Regions from separate parts of the Homo sapiens genome. Here regions 1 and 2 are each linked to region 3. The links are contacts of gene promoters, found by promoter capture Hi-C in blood cells and fetal thymus (Javierre and others, 2016). All regions are on one chromosome and are shown on one strand. Each heading gives the region's core, a stretch centred on a gene start or on the middle of the fragment in contact. The rest is flanking DNA. Distances are from core to core; before and after follow the strand shown.

Region 1 (3,009 bases), core at 337-2,836, 89 kb after region 3:
CTTGTCATGTGGTTTAGACTTCTCATCACGTGACAGCTGGATTCTGACAGGGAGCATCCTCCAGGGAGCAACCAGGGAGCAAATTTTCCAGGAGACACAAGTGGATGCTGAATGGCTTTTTTTGGACTTCTGTCACATTCTCTTGGTTAAAAGTGAATCAGTGAGGCTCAGATTCAAGGAGAAGGGGAACTAAGTTCAATTTCTTGATACGGAATTGTTAATGTTTCACTGCAAAAGAGCATGTGAGGTGGGAGCTATTATTATGCTTGTCTTTGGAATGTGCCATATTCAGTGAGATGTTCAACAGAGAATAAAAGAGACATAAAAATGATAAAGTTCTTATCTTGAGCTTGGAATTGGAATGAGAAAATACTGCATAACTATTATGTAATTTGGGCATATTAATAAAAAAGTATAAGTTTGAATGTGTTAATAAAGTTATGCATACAACAACCTGTCAAATAGATATATTTAATAAAATGTGCAGATCAATGAAATGGGGATGTGGGGAGATGTGTGAAAGAGATCAGTTCAGCAAAAGTCAGGAGTAGGAGAAATCTGCCAGAAAACATAATAAAAATAAATAAGATGACAGGGTGAAACAAAACAAAATCATAGGAATTATAACAAATATGAATGGACTTAGTTCCCCTATTTAAAGGGAAAGTTCCTCAAATATGGTTAAAAATAAAGATCAAACTAACGGTGTTTCCAAAAGACAGACTAAAGTTAAAATATCAAAGGAATATGGAAAGAAGTGAATGAGAGAAGACAAACAGGCAAATATAGTATGACAGTATTAAAATCATATAAAGCAAAGCATATGGGCAAATATGAAATACATGACAAACATAAATAATTCATAAAAATAAAACAATGCACAATCTTTTTTTATCCTCATGGCACATATAGAGGAGAGAATAATTAATTGCATAAATCTTCCTGACTCCAAGATGAATGTTAGGTGTTTATTTATTTTCAGAAGAACTGAGACACATGTCCACAGAAGTTGTTGAGAGTGGCCTACAATTTGGGCTGCTGTGCATAGACTCATGCTATGTATTTTTGAATGAATGAATAAATAAACAAATAAATAAATAAAGGTATGTATGAATGAAAGTTTAAAGGCAGCTTTGAGGATGGCACACTATTGCCATCTACCAGAGACAGCTAAACTGCCTGAGCCTCAGTACTGCCACTTCCCAGTGGGTGAATTTATATAATTACCCAAACTTAGCCCCTATTTCTTTGTAGAAAAGAATTAATAGTAATCCTTTAACAGCTTCCTAATTAAGAGGACTGCTATGAAAATTATGTGAAATTACTCAATCCACTGTGGGAAAGTATTTTGCAAACTGTGAAGAACTCTGCAGGATTAGATGTTATTACTCTGATCCTTCAGGGTAACAAACCATGGGAGGTTGAGTTAAGTTAAAATCCTTTCTGTAATTGTCTCTCTCTTGCCTCCTCTTATTAGATGATCAGTTGCTTCCATTTGAATCACTGTCAAGAAAGAATGAAGCAGCCAATTCTTTTGGAGGAAGTTGATAGTCTCTTTTTGGGTAAGTTTCCAAGCATAACTCTTAAGAAGTCCTGTCCCGCACACAGATGACTTCCCCCTGCAGCTCTGTTATGCTGCCCAGCATGCATTACTCTGGTGAGATGAGCTGATGGTTTCTGATGTTGCTTTAGTCCTTGTGCTATTTCCTAAGAAGTTGTTTTCCAAGGTGGACTCATGTGCAAACTTCCTGAGGTCATTATTCAGACCATGGTCCAGGTATTTTCTTTGATACACATAATTCAACAGATCTATAATGCTCCCTGATTATATAATGAATTAAGCACCTACTGTGTGCAATGTTCTGACTGAGGCTCATTGAAAGTACACATGAATGGTTCTTGTACTCAAAAAGTGTGCAATTTTTTTAGGTGAGCAAACAGCAAAAATTCAGTTAGCTTTAATTAACAGGTTATTTGAAACTATTTTTATAGGGCATTTTCTAGGATCCATTTTCTTCCTTTCCTAGCAAGAAAACTGCCACATAGTTAGATTTATATTTCCATGTGTATATCTTATTTCAAAGCATGTATTCTTTATCTCTTTTGATTGTCACAGCATGTTTGCGATTTGGCTCAGCAAAATGTTATGATTTTTGTCACTTTTAATCAGAAGAATTGAAACATAGGGAGGTTTCATAAGTTGTTCAAGTTCACACAGAAATTTTGGAACAGAGCAAGACTGAGAGTAAGAATAGTGCTATGGTTTTTCAATCAGACTTCCCAGGACTTGAATCCCAGCTCTCCCACTTAGAAACTGTGCTGTCAGGGGGCAAGTTCTATAATTTCCAGTGCCTGAGTTTTCTTAGCTGGAAATTGGGAATAATATTGTACCTGCCCAAAGGGTTATTGTGAGAATTGAGTCAGATAATCTACATACATATTTTATCAAAGTTTCTGGCCTACAAGAAGTATTTAACACTTGTTAACCATTAATTCATTAATTATTGAGATTTTTTTGGGTACGAAAATTAAACTTTACTCCTTTTTAATAAACATTTATTGTTTACTTTTTATTATAAAAATTACATATGAAAAGCACATAAATATGTAAGAGTTAAATATGTGTAAATATTAAAGGCTTTGTTTTCTATTATTAGTCATATTATAATGATTTTTATGAATAACTTTTTGACTGCATTTAGACTATTTCTTTTGGATATTTTTCTAAAATAGAATTACTGGTTAAGAACATTTAAACATTTATAAACATTTTGATAAATTTTACCAAATTGCTTTTTGGTGTGTTTATAGTCCTACCAGTTGTGTAGGAAAGTGTTAATCTCGGGGTAGGCTAGCAGTAATAGTTAGAAACATTTCACTTTTTTGTTCTTACTTATTTTCCAGGTAATAGGAAATTTTCTTGTAATTTTAATATACATATTTTGATTAGTGAGGCTGACAGTTTTCATGATTTTATTGGCCATTTTTTTCCTAGGGAGTGTGGTAAGT
Region 2 (2,922 bases), core at 246-2,745, 67 kb after region 3:
GACTGGGTAATTTATAAAGGAAAGTGGTTTAATGAACTCACAATTCCACATAATTGGGGAGGCCTCACAATCATGGCAGAAGATGAAGGAAGAGTAAAAGCATGTCTTACATGATGACAGGCAAGAGAGCTTGTGCAGGGGAACTCCCATTTATAAAACCATTAGATCTTGTGAGACTTATTCACTACCAGGAGAACAGGATAGGAGAAACCGCCCCCATGATTCAGTTATTTCCACCTGGCCCTGCCCTTGACATGTGGGGATTGTTACAACTCAAGGTGAGCTTTGGGTGGGGACACAGCCAAACCATGTCAGTCACAATAGTAGTAGTAGTAATCTTCCTAGCGTGCTGTATACTCTCAAAAATCTTAATAGCTACATGCAGCCATCTGCTGAATGCTAAATGGTCTCTCTCTGCCTGGCATGACAAACTCCAGAAGATGCATGATAACAAGGACACTGTAATCTATGAATAACATGATGAGACTGAAAACTCAAAACAATGGTGATGGAGAGTGGCACTGATGCTCTAACCTAGGTGAGAGCATGACCCAAAGCGGGGGGAATGGTTAAACAAAGTTTATGGGATACTATTGTTTTGGACTAGCCTTCTATACTAGGCCCCAGCAGACCAGCTCAAATCAGAATGGAGTCACTTGTGCTAGGTGCCAGGTAATCAAACCAAACTTTGAAATGGGCCAGTTTTCCATCAAATAACAGAAATTTCAGTCAACCTGAGTCAGCATAATATGGAATTCTCCTCTGTTTTAATTCCATCAGGAAAGAAACTTTGAAATGTCCAACCTGCTTTTTGTTCTCTGTTTCTACTTTCTTCAGCTCTTTTATGGCTAAAAAGCCAACCTCCTCTGCTGAGCTAATCAGAACCCCTCATTATATTTTATACAATGAGGTGTTACCTGATTCTAGAATAATAAATCAAAGCCAATTGTATTTTTAACCTAAATTCATTGTAATTTTGTCTTTTGACACTGCATTCAGTCAGTATTTCTAGTGGATGAAATTGAACATAAGCAAATGTAAAATTCAGTTAGGCTTAAATTGTTTACTAATATATCAATAGTGTTGTTAACTAACATATGTGTGTGTTCAAAATAAAAGAACAGATGTGATTGTATTCCCTCTCCTATATTAACAGTCTTTTCCTCTCTCCTGAATCATGCTCCTTAGTATACAAAGATTCCAAGGACTGCCAGTTTCAAAAAATACCTCAATTCCATATACATCTTAGGTCTTTCGATGGCACTTCTTAGTCTCTCTCCTGTATCCCTAAGGTCTACTTTTCACTGACCCAACCTCTTGTAAGAGACATTCTTGTATATTGCCTTCACTTCTTTATCTTTAAAATCTATGGCCATCCATATAAAATCTGTCCTATCACTGTGTTGAAACTGCCCTTTCTTTTTTTCTCTTTCTTTCTTTCTTCTTTTTCTTTTTCTTTCTTTCTTTTCTTTTTCTTTCTTTCTTTCTTTTTCTTTCTTTCTTTTCTTTTTCTTTCTTTCTTTCTTTCTTTCCTTCCTTCTTTCTTTTTCTTTCCTTCTTTCTTTCTTTGAGTCTTGCTCTTTTGCCCAGGCTGGAGGAGTAAAGTGGCACGATCTCGGCTCAGTGCAACCTCCACCTCCCGGGTTCAAGCCATTCTCCTGCCTTACCCTCCAGAGTAGCTGGGATTACAGGTGCCTGCCACCACACCCGGCTAATTTTTGTATTTTTGGTAGACACGGGGTTTCACCATGTTGGCTAGGCTGGTCTTGAACTGACCTCGGGTAATCCACCTGCCTCGGCCTCCCAAAGTGCTAGGATTACAGGCGTGTGCCACCGCGCCCAGCAAAACTGCTCTTTCTAATGACTTGCATACTCCCAAATTGAATGAGCAGAATGTTAGTCTTATTACAAAACAGATAACCCAGTTGTTTTTATTTTTTATTTTTATTTTATTTTATTTTATTTTTTTTGAGATGGAGTCTCCCTCTGTCGCCTGGACTGGAGTGCAGTGGCACGATCTCAGCTCACTGCAACCTCCTCCCCCTGGGTCAAGCAATTCTCCTGCCTCAGCTTCCCTAGTAGCTGGGATTACAGGCATGCATTACCACACCCAGCTTATTTTTGTATTTTTAGTAGAGACAGGAGTTTCGCCATGTTGGCCAGGATGGTCTTGAACTCCTGACCTCAGGGAATCTGCCTGCTTCGGGCTCCCAAAGTGCTGGGGTTACAGGATTGAGCCACTGCACCTAGCCAACCCATTCCAATTTGAATACTTTGAGGAGGGCATACTTATAATGAGACATTTATAAGGATGTGGTCAGGTAAAGATCCTTAGTGATACAGTGCAGTTACTTTCTCTTCTTGATATGTGGGGTCACTGTTAAAAACAGGTGAAAGCACAGGGTCCAATTCTGCTTTGTCCAAAGATACCATAATGCCTTGCTATCGCTATCTGACTCTATCAAAGGGAAGATGATTTAAGTGCCTGAGTTGTGATGGCTTAAGGTTCTCACACATGGACTTTCAAATTTACTGGCACAAGTTAGGCTTCTCTTCACAAAGTCTGCCATAATGCCTTGTGACTGGGTCAGGATAGACTTCCAACCTCATCCTGCAGCCAATATTTCACCCTTGCTGAGCTACATACTCTAGCATTTAAATAAATAAGAAACAATTTTACTAACTTTCTCTTCTCTCTGTCTCCAAACATATATCATTTTTCTTATGAGGAAAGTTCCTCTTTAGAGACCTTTGGTGTCCTTTATACTGTCATTGAACTACAAGACTTCATTGAGATTTCTTTTTTTGTTTTTTTTTTTGTGTTTTTTTGAGACAGAGTCTCACTCTCACCCAGGCTGGAGTGCAGTGGTGTGATCCCAGCTCATTGCAACCTCCGCCTCCTGGGTTCAAGCAATTCTCCTG
Region 3 (3,261 bases), core at 402-2,901:
GACCTCTGCAGCTGCAGTCACAGGGGAAGAAGTTACAGCTGTTAATTTTGGGGGCTTTGGTGGGAGTTGGGGGAAGGAAGAATAGTAATTACACATGAGACCAAAAGAGGATTCTTTGAATTTGAAGTGGCCAAATTGGTACCACAGGGCACATTATTTAGTTTATCGGAAGGCAGGAGATGAGCCTGTAGAACTCGTTTCCTGAGGGCAGTCTGAAAACAGAATCTGGCTCCAGGAGTAGAGAGGGCTGTGATTTCAGACGGGTGCCCAAGCACTTGACTCCAGGGACAGCGCCACCCTCTGCGGCAGTGCCAAGCACTTCCCTCAAGTTTGGGATCTATAGAGGAGCTTTTGTGTGGAAACGTGGGCAGACTTAGGTTGAAATAATGGAGGTGGGGAGCAGGAAAGGGAGTTGTTAGATCTTGTTTATTATGGTCCTTCACTAATTTTTCCTGCATGGTAGTGTAGCCCCCTGACCTCTACCTCCTGCCTCCTCCCAAGCAGAATACATGTTTAAGTCAAAGTCTACAGATGCCAGTGTTGCACATAGGGACTCCACAGCAAGTACCTGTTAAATGATGATAACAGTCATATGCAGTGGGATGAAAATAACATGATCCACACCCCCAGACTCCCCTCCGATTGTCCCCTCACCTCCACTCTTAGGCTCCATTGTTACCACTGGACATTACAACGGGCTTTTTCTGAATGTGAAGGTTTCCAGGAGTCGGTCTCTGATCTGCTTGGTGCGGGCCCCATAGATGAGGGGGTTGAGGGCAGGTGGCAGCAGCAAGTAGATGTTGGAGAGAAGGATGTGCACAGGCTTTGGGACAGTGTGATGACCAAAGCGGTGTGTGAGGTAGGAGAAGAGACCAGGTATGTAGAAGGCCAGAATGACACAGATGTGAGAACTACATGTACCAAAGGCCTTGGCATGGGCCTCCCGGGTAGGTAGCTGCAGCACAGCATGGGCAATGAGTCCATAGGAGCCAGTGATACCCAGAATATCCATACCTGAGATGGCCAGTGAAAGTGCCAGACCATATAAGTTGGTGGCCTGTGTGTTACCCACCACCAGTTCTACCACTGCCATGTGTGCACAATAGGTATGGCCTATGGTCTTGGCTTGGAAGTGCTCAAACTTTGCCACCAGCAGTGGGAAAGGTACAACAATAGCCACAGCTTTCAGTGCCAGGGCCAAGGCTGCATAACCCACACAGGCTTTGGTGACCAGGACAGGGTAGTGCAGTGGACGCCCTATTGCCGCAGCACGATCACAGGCCATGGCCAAAAGCACACCTGATTCCATGGCAGTCAGTGCATGTACAAAGAACATCTGGACCAGGCACACAGCATATGGCACAGATCGGGGCCCAAGCCACAGCACAGCCAGCAACCCTGGGGCTATAGATGTGGCTAAGCCCAGGTCTGTGGCTGCCAGGATGGCCAACAGTAGAAACATGGGCTGGTGCAGTGTGGAGTCTATCCACACCACTGCCGGCAGTGCTCCATTGCCCAGCAGGGCCAGCAGATAAATGGGCCCAAAGACCAGTGTCAGCCAAGTCTGGGCACTTCCTAGCCCTGGAAAGCCAGTCAGTATGAAGAAGTTTGGGTGTAGGAAGGTGGAATTGAGTTGTAGAGTTTCTGCCATTCTGTGGTGGGCACAACTTGAGGGCTCATGGGGGCATGACTCCTGACAGGGAAGATAAGGGGAGAGATTTTGGGGGTCTCACAGTGGCACAAACCCATCCATGGCATACGTGTAGGAGTAGTGCAGGGCTGGGAGGATCACAGGTTTATAACTTTTGGTTAGGGGGGTTTGGATGGATAATTAAGGTCGCAATTCTAGCTAAGATAGGAGAATCCTTTGCTCCTAAAAGTCTATATGTATTGTAGTGGGAGGAAGGGGTAGTGAGGAAGAGGCTGCCTGCTGCAGTGGTTGGTATAGATAGCCTGAGAGAGCCTTCTAATTGGATGTCAGCAGAGGGTGGAGTGGAGATGAATACTTTTCTTCCTCAGGGTCCAAATAGAGTCAGTCTCAGTCTCTATATGAGGAGAAAGCCAGTGCTGGGGGCAGGGTGGGGAATCAGGCTTCCGGCTGTCCTGTCCCTGCCTGTGTATCCTTGGGCAAGATCTCTGGACCTCAGCTTCTTCAGCTGTATAGGCCTGGTGGGTACAGTGATATTAAGGTTTGCCCAGCTCTGAGCAATTGCCCATTCTCAGCACCAACCATCCAGGAAGAGAGGAGGCAGAGTATAAAGAAAGGGAGAAACCGTAGTGGGAGGCAGATGGAATCTGGAGTGAATCTGGGAGCTTGGTGTGGCAAGGGAAAACTTGCTGGGTTTTTGGGGTGCAGGGTGCTTACGTTCTGAACTTGATGCTGAACACCAGCTGGAGAGTTGAAGTTGGGGCTGGGAAGCAACAGAGAGAGAGATGGCAGTACGAAACGGGACTTTTCTTCTCCGTTTCCTTTCCTTCTTCACGGTACAAAAGTGGGTCCCACTAGAGTCTCATTCCTGGCATGCCAGAGCGAGTGGAGGTGACATAGAGGGAGAAAATGGCACTCAACTCAGAGTAGCAGCCATCTGAGGAAGAAGCATCTCTGACATTGGAGGAGGCAGGACAAGTAGATTGACTTAGGTGGGATCCAGCCCACCTAAGAAGCTTAATACATGTTGAATGGATAAATGAATGAGGAAGAAATCACCAGCAGAAGGCTTGACTGGGAAAGATCTCGAGCACTGTGTGTTGGCAGCTTCTCTTCGCTTTAATCAGTGCCTGTGGGGCTCTTTATGTGGCTGTTCTACCTGCTTCCCTCAGGGCCTTTCTCCCTCCCACCTGTGCCACATTAACTCTGTTTTGTATCTCTTTGCTCAGTGCTGATGGGCTGGTGACTCAGGAAGTAGAGTAAGGAGGCAGAGATGGGGGCAAGCCAGGAAAGAGACTATCAGGTGGAAAGATCTGGGCAAGGAACACTTTCTCAGGGAGGTCTTTGCTGGCTCACTGAAGTCCGGGAGAAAATTCCTTGGTTTATTCTTTAATAGCATCTAGCCCACTCTGTTGTAATTTCTTGTCTCTCAATTCCCCACGAGACAAAAAGAGTTGCAGATATTGCTTTTTATTAGCTACAGTGTCTCTACTGCTTACCACAATGTCTGGCATGTAGTTAGCTATGAATAAATATATATTGCTTTTAAGTGTGGGACAGACTGCTAGTCCAAACAGCTTTTGCTGACTAATAGGGGCTCCTACAGTTTCAGG

The links. The method cuts DNA at HindIII sites, captures the fragments that hold promoters and counts their contacts. A CHiCAGO score of 5 or more calls a contact.
Region 1: a contact is called between a fragment that was not itself captured here and the fragment with the promoter of OR52W1 in region 3, in 2 of 17 cell types (neutrophils and monocytes). The highest score is 7.5, in neutrophils.
Region 2: a contact is called between a fragment that was not itself captured here and the fragment with the promoter of OR52W1 in region 3, in 4 of 17 cell types (monocytes, neutrophils, M1 macrophages and 1 more). The highest score is 7.8, in monocytes.

The regions. Positions count from the first base shown.
Region 1 is chr11:6,108,817-6,111,825 of GRCh38, reverse strand. It overlaps LOC124902622 (a long non-coding RNA gene), which reads left to right. Exons shown (of 3, transcript XR_007062565.1): 2 at 1,478-1,562. It overlaps OR56B4 (olfactory receptor family 56 subfamily B member 4), which reads right to left. Exons shown (of 1, transcript NM_001005181.2): 1 at 2,991-3,009. Among named protein-coding and RNA genes, the nearest start is that of OR56B4, 2.6 kb to the right of the region's middle. The HindIII fragment of the contact is 4,061 bases long and covers 1-3,009 here.
Region 2 is chr11:6,130,450-6,133,371 of GRCh38, reverse strand. No RefSeq gene overlaps it. Among named protein-coding and RNA genes, the nearest start is that of OR56B4, 24 kb to the right of the region's middle. The HindIII fragment of the contact is 5,709 bases long and covers 1-2,922 here.
Region 3 is chr11:6,197,614-6,200,874 of GRCh38, reverse strand. OR52W1 (olfactory receptor family 52 subfamily W member 1) reads right to left here and starts at 1,651. Exons shown (of 1, transcript NM_001005178.1): 1 at 689-1,651. The coding sequence starts at 1,651. The coding sequence ends at 689. RefSeq lists enhancers at 836-1,336, 1,337-1,837. The HindIII fragment of the contact is 17,873 bases long and covers 1-2,666 here.